2 separate regions of the Homo sapiens genome follow, and region 1 is linked to region 2. Evidence: promoter capture Hi-C in human tissues and cell types (Jung and others, 2019). All regions are on one chromosome and are shown on one strand. The core of a region is centred on a gene start or on the middle of the fragment in contact, and the rest is flanking DNA. Distances in the headings are between cores, read along the strand shown. Region 1 overlaps GRIK4 (glutamate ionotropic receptor kainate type subunit 4). Region 2 holds the start of TECTA (tectorin alpha).

Evidence for each region. Contacts are between HindIII fragments. The study calls those that stand out against the background at their distance.
Region 1: a fragment that was not itself captured here is called in contact with the fragment with the promoter of TECTA in region 2 in 1 of the 25 tissues and cell types used here (pancreas).

The regions. Positions count from the first base shown.
Region 1 is chr11:120,914,599-120,917,963 of GRCh38, forward strand. All of the region lies in intron 13 of GRIK4 (glutamate ionotropic receptor kainate type subunit 4), which reads left to right. Among named protein-coding and RNA genes, the nearest start is that of TBCEL, 110 kb to the right of the region's middle. The HindIII fragment of the contact is 5,965 bases long and covers 1-3,365 here.
Region 2 is chr11:121,099,300-121,102,577 of GRCh38, forward strand. It overlaps TECTA (tectorin alpha), which reads left to right and starts at 1,944. Exons shown (of 24, transcript NM_005422.4): 1 at 1,944-2,143. All of the region lies in intron 7 of TBCEL-TECTA (TBCEL-TECTA readthrough), which reads left to right. The HindIII fragment of the contact is 17,013 bases long and covers 1-3,278 here.

The DNA of each region.
Region 1 (3,365 bases), core at 809-3,308, 180 kb before region 2:
ACACTGCAGTGCCGTTGGTTCTGGACAACTGGAGCCAAGCATGAGAGGGGGTGGAGGAGAACAGGGCTGTAGGCAGGGGCCAGTCGTGATAGGGTTTATGTGTTTGGATCTTTATAAACTATGTCCAGAGCGCTAGTGGGAGCTGTCTAAGAGCAGGTGGTTTGTTTGTTTTATTCAAAGAGGGGAGTGGCATAATTGCCTTTGGTTCCAGAAGGTTACTCTAGCAGATGAGAGGGGGACGGATTGGAGGTGGGAAGACCAGATGCAGGTTTACTCATTAGACAGCTGTCCAGTGATCAGGAGAATGGAATGGGGTCTGAATTAAGCAGTGACTGTGAGGATGCCCAAGAGAGGATTATGGCTGTGTGGGGACTTCAGCATTTGAGTCTGGGACCCAGTGAGTGCAGGGAGCTCCCCTTTCCTGTAGACCTTCAAGCATGGGTTAAGGTCGTCCTGCTTCTCAGGGGAGAAGGGATTGGCTGTTTGACCCTGGGAAGGTCCTTTCTACAATGGCTCCTTGAGAGATGCATGCCACATAGCGATCCCTGCATGCAACCCACTGAGACCTGGGAAGGGAGGAAATCCATCTTCTCCAGCTCATTATTCACAGACAGGTGTACTTGAAAATAAAGGGGCCAGCGCGCTGGACTGCACCTTAGCCACAAACATGTTCATGCACTCTCTCCACAACACTCTGCTTCATTGTGAGTTCCCAAAAGGTTCTTTTCTGTCAGTAGGAGTCCTTTCACTCACCTGAGAAAAGGGCAATAATGGCAGTTTCGTGACTGCAGCCGCCCTTTTTTTCTTCTGAGATGTCTGTATCGGCTGCCAGGCTGCGGCTGGGCTCTCCCATCTCATCTCCCTCTCTCCCTCTGATGGCCTCCCTCTCCTCCATTCAGGAGTGAGGTGCGCACACCCCAGAAGATTGCCGCTGGGCCTCTGGAGCCGCAGCTGCCAACCGTGCGAGCCCAGCCAATGCCCTACCTGCGCTCGGTGGAGGGCTCTGCTGTGGCTTTCTGATTTGCCCTGTCCTCTGGCTTCCCTTGGCTTATAGGGGGTCTGAATGGGGATCTCATGTGCTCCAGACCCTTGCTCACATGTCTTCCTAGTTCAAAGCCGAGCCACCAGGAGGGAAGGGAGTAGAAGCAGGGTGCTATAACTCCTGACAAGGCCAGACACCATGTAGAAGCTCTACACTCATGAGTTAATTTGATCCTTACATGACCCATGAGACAGGAATTATTACTCTGTTCCACAGATGAGGGCACAGAGGCTTGGAGAGTTCCATAATTAATCCAAGCTCAGACACACAGCAAGTGGCCAGAGCCCAGACTCAGACCCCAATCTTGGGCTCTTCTCACTGCACCAAAGGGGCATGTGAGAACTGGTGTCTGGAACAAAGGATGACTTGGGTGGCATCGTCTTGTTCTCTGCATCAGCCTCCTAGAAGAATGAGGAGGAAGGAATAAGTTGGCCCAGGAGAATGGTAAACAAGGAGGTGGCTCTGAGTGGCCAGTTTGACAGGGACATTTGGCTGACACTTCTGTCCTCAACCCTCTTATCTGGAAACTGGACTTCTTATGACCACCTCGTTTTTCAGACTAAGAAAACAGAGCCCCAAGAAGCTAACGCCCAGGAGTGCTAGGAGTTGAAGTCAGGTCCTTTTCCTCTAGGAGCCTTTCAGCTAAAAAGGCAGACAGATGCGAGCAGAAGTTATTTTAATGAGGTCATACAGGATAAGTGCTGTATTAGACATAGCAAAGTACATCGTAAATGACTAGGAAGGTAGGGGCAGAAATGACTTCTGAATCGGGACAACCAGGATGGATTCCTAGTGGAAGTAAGACTGGCAACTCTTTGAAGGAAAGTACAATGTCTTATGCATCTTGACATCCTTATGCACCTAACACAGTGCCTGAAACACGGTGAAGTGGTAACATAGGTAATACTAGGAATCTCTAGTCTGAAAATCCAAAATCTGAAATGCTCCAATGTCTGAAACTTGTTGAGCTTCGATGTGATACCGCAAGTGGAAAATTCCACACCTATCCTCATGAAGGGTCGTAGTCAAAAACAGTCAAAACTTTGTTTCATGAACAAAATTATTTAAAATATTGTATGAAATTACCTTCAGGCTACGTGTCTAAGGTGTCTATGAAACAGAAATGAACTTCGTGTTTAGACTTGAGTCTCATTCCCAAGATACCTCATTATGTTTATGAAAATATTCCAAAATCTGAAAAAGTCGGAAATTCGAAACACTTCTGGTCTCAAGCATTTCAGATAAGGGGCGCTTGCATTCCCCTAGGGAGTGCTTCCTTCAGCAGGTTTGCATCAACCCAAGGCTTAGAAAGCCAGGCTTTCCGGCCAGGTGTGGTGGCTCACGCCTGTAATCCCAGCACTTTGGGAGGCCGAGGCGAGCGGATCACCTGAGGTCAGGAGTTCGAGACCAGACTGGCCAACATGGAGAAACCTCGTCTCTGATAAAAAATACAAAAATTAGCTGGGCATGGTGGCGCATGCCTCTAATCCCAGCTACTCAGGAGGCTGAGGCAGGAGAATTGCTTGAACCCGGGAGGCGGAGGTTGCCGTGAGCTGAGATCATGCCATTGCACTCCAGCCTGGGTAACAAGAGCGAAACTCCGTCTCAAAAAAAAAAAAAAAAAAAAAAAAAGAAAGAAAGAAAGAAAGAAAGAAAAAAGAAAGAAAAGAAAAGAAAGCCAGGCTTTCCATTTATGAATCAATCAGCAGACAGTGATTTAACACCTATGTGCCAGTCACTGTGCTGGGGTGTGGGGTAAAGGAACAGATCAGGTTTGGTTCTGTCTCTGAAAGCTTACAGACCGGGCGGTAAAAGGCAAGGGGGGCACAGGCATGTAAGATAATAAAGTGTAGGTGTGAGTACATGGCTGGGAGCCCCGAGCAGGGCAGGACTAAGGAATGACATCGGAGCGTCACCCGTGCAGGTGCGCTGCTTAAATCCCTGTCTCTGGGAGAGCAGTCTCCAGGCCCAGAGACAGTCAGCCACAGATTTGAAACAGACTTCAGAATTTTCCCCGCCCATCCTCAGATCCCTGTGCTGGTTATTTTCCATGGAAGGAGTTGCCCGGGGGGATCTGGAAGGGTTTGGAGTTCAGTTAGGTTCAGTGCTCCCTTAGCAGCTTCCTACTGGGAGCTCCTTCAAACCCCATTGGGCATCTCAAAGCAGCCTGGGAAACTTATCAGTTCTTGGGAATTATTTCCACCTTCCCCACTGAGCGCCAGCTGTTAAGGGGAGTGAAGGGTCTGCAAAGGAAATGAAAATGTATTAATTAAGGCATCTGAAAGCCTTCTAAGAGATCAGCTTGCTGCTAAGCAGAAGAGAC
Region 2 (3,278 bases), core at 694-3,193:
GGTATACAAAACCTAAGAAAACAACACAAAAACAAAATAAAACCCATTCTACTTGAGTTTAGAGGACTGTATTTTTTTATTTTGTTTGAGCTGTCTTTCCTCTTGCCTATAAAACAGCATCAACTTCTGCCATTTTTTTTTTATAAAGCACAGTTATCTTGGGTAACTAGCTCCAACCCACCCCCACCGTACCCCACATCTAAATCTTGTCAAAATCTTTGCTCACCTCACACTTTCAACGAAATAAGTCCTCCTGCTGACACAGCATGAAAAGACATTTTTGTCATTTGTCAATCTGTGACCACTGGGTGTACACCAGAACACACACTCACTGACCAGCTTCCCAAAGTGATAAGCCAGCCTGGTGTCTCCCCACGCACCTGGTGTTCCCTTGCAGCCGGATTCTCAAAGGCATTCTAATTCATGTATGCCACCATCTTGTGTATCTGGTTATGCCCAGATGGCATTTATCCGGGCAGCAGTCCTGTCTCAAGAAGGATGGAGCATCCAACATGGGTCAAAAGGGCTGTGATATAAATATCCTAGAATGCATGAAAAAGGAAGAAAGCAATTAGTATGCCACCAGCAGTTAATTAAAACACAGCCAGCGATTTTGCTTCAAGACATTTAGGTTGGCTACTGGACTAAAACCTAAGGCTGGACAAAGAGAATCCTTCTGTAATGAGTCTTTGATTTGAACTTAATTTTATTTTAAATAGGCACCCAAGAAACTAGCTTTTCTGTTATATAAATATACGCCATTCTAAGCACTCCTAGAATCCAAAGAAAAACAAATAAATGTGAGTCATTTGGAAAGAAGCAGTCATTTAACATCTGTAAGTAAATATGTGTGGAGGATTCATAATACCAGTGAGAGAATAAACAATGTGGGAAACCTACTGAATTATCACAGGTTTTTGGAAAAACACGGAGTAATTTAAACTAAAAAAATTTAGCTCGCCAAGCACTCTTGTCCATTTTAAGACAACATGCTTAAACCCAGAATTATATTTCTTTTGTACAGTTGGCATTTAAATGTCTGGTCAGAGAAAATTTGCAGTAATTTTTAAATTCCCATTGATGTGCAGAAGAGTTTTTTTTTCCTGCTACAGTCAAGTTACTTCTTTCTTAATAAATTCCATTTAAACATTTTGAATAGTAGATTTAGCTTATGCCTTAGCCAGTTTTGCTCATTCCACATCTACTGGATGCTTGGAAGCATCTAACCGAGCACGTTTTCCTCTTATTCACATGCCTTTTAAACTATTTACTTACTGCAAATTTTTTATCAGAAGGGGTTTATCTCCCCCCTCTGCCTCCAGTGACCCTCACTGGGTGTTAGGGAAGGTTTCCAGGCCACAGTTTGAGATTTCCCTTGTGGAAGATCGTGTCTAGCGCTAGGTCCCTTGTTAGATTTTGCCTGGAAAGTGCCCTGTCCTATCTCCTGCAGAGCGGTGCATCAGAGAGAAAAGAGAGGGCATAAAACCTAAAAAGTTTGGAAATTTTCTTTAAATACTTCATGCATACCTGTGAAAAAATAGAGTAGAGCCTATCTGTGGCGACTGTTGAAAACCAGAGAAACAAAAAAAGACTTTAATAGAAAACCAACTTCATTTAAATGTTGGAGGCAGCTGCTTTGTTTGGAGTTTTAATCCCATGCTGGTGGATGCTAATTCTGTAACATTATACAGTTGCCTTCTTTTGGGTACAAAGGTAGAAGGGGGGTTTTCTTTTGTGTTTTTCAGTGCAAAGTGATTCTGATCAGAAAGGCCCAAGGTTTCAGCTCCAAGTACCTGACATTTCCATCTGAATCTACTTTTTTTTTCAAAGGGGAAAAAAAAAGGTCTAGTTTTTCAGGAAAAGAACCTCTCTACGCAATCCTGAAACTGATCTTTAGATTTACTTTTCCTTAATCAATAGAAAAAAACTTGATTGCAGCTCAACACTTACCTGTCTCTAGTGCAGGACTAACTTAATTTTTGGTTTTAAGAGTACGAGATTCAGACATTATTTCAGGAATCAGAAATTATTGGCAACAAGTTGAGGAGAACTGACATGAATTCTTGTTTTACCTAATTTTTTCTGGCTTACCAAGATTTGGCTTAATATTTCTGACTCAGTTCCTCCAGCCTCTACAGAACAGGTTAGTGACATTTTTCATAAATACAAATATCTAAATGAATCCTCCTTACTTCTCTCTGAACCGGTTCCCTAAGGGCTCTAGTCTTAAACTTGCACGGCATCTTCTCCATTAAAGCTGTGTGTGATCTCTGCTAAACCTTTGTACCCTTTCCAGCAAAACTGTCTAATATTTAATATGTGCTTGAAATTACAACATATATACTTGACAACTAAAGATTTGCAATAAAACTCTCACAGGATAAATTCATTGCCTTTCCCGTGAAAGTTTGGCTGAAGAATTGTGATAACTTCAAATGATAAGAGGAAGGTTTTTCTTTTTTAAGAATACTGTCAGGAGGAGACTTCATGGTCTAGCCACACGCTTGGGTGATGTCTAACTTGAGCTTGCGTCCGTGTTCTCATCGCAGCTTTGCAGAGTGACACAGACAAAACATGCTCCTGATGGAGGGTAAAGCCACCATGCAACCGATTGTAAACTAACACGAAAACAAGTTTCTCTTTGCTGTGTTCCTTCTTTAATTAACTTGCTGGAACTAATTGGTTGCTTGTGCGCTGGATTCTATTTTTATTGTGATTCCAACTCTGGATTGGTCCTTTTTTATTACTAATGTTTCTATCATTCATTTCACTGTGGGAAGTCAGTGAACAGAGTAGACTGGCCCTGAATCTGGTCAATACTTCAAAATGATGGATCGGCTCCATTCTATGGAGAAGGTGATGGCAGACTCTAAATTCTCCTAGCTGTAGAACACATTGTGTTTTAACCAACTTTTGTTTGATTCTGATGGAAAGCTGTAGTGAAAATTAGGAAATCCAGGTCTCACTGGGGTGTGGTTTCTGCTGCAGAGACACAACCCGGGACCTGCATGCATCTTTAGCGTTGGGTCCTAGTTTTCAGCGCTTTATTTGATGCAGAGGGGATACCTTTCCTTTACGCATACCACTCTCACTGATCCTAAATAATTACTTGACAGTTTGAATGATCTCATTACACTTCCAGACTGGCTTCTTCTGGGCATCTAATTTGTTCATGAAGTGTTGAACTTCGGAGGACCTGCCAGCATTCAGGGGATTTCAGCCCGACTCAGCACTGTTGATGTTGTTATGTGAATTTGTTCTATGACGGTTTTGATGGT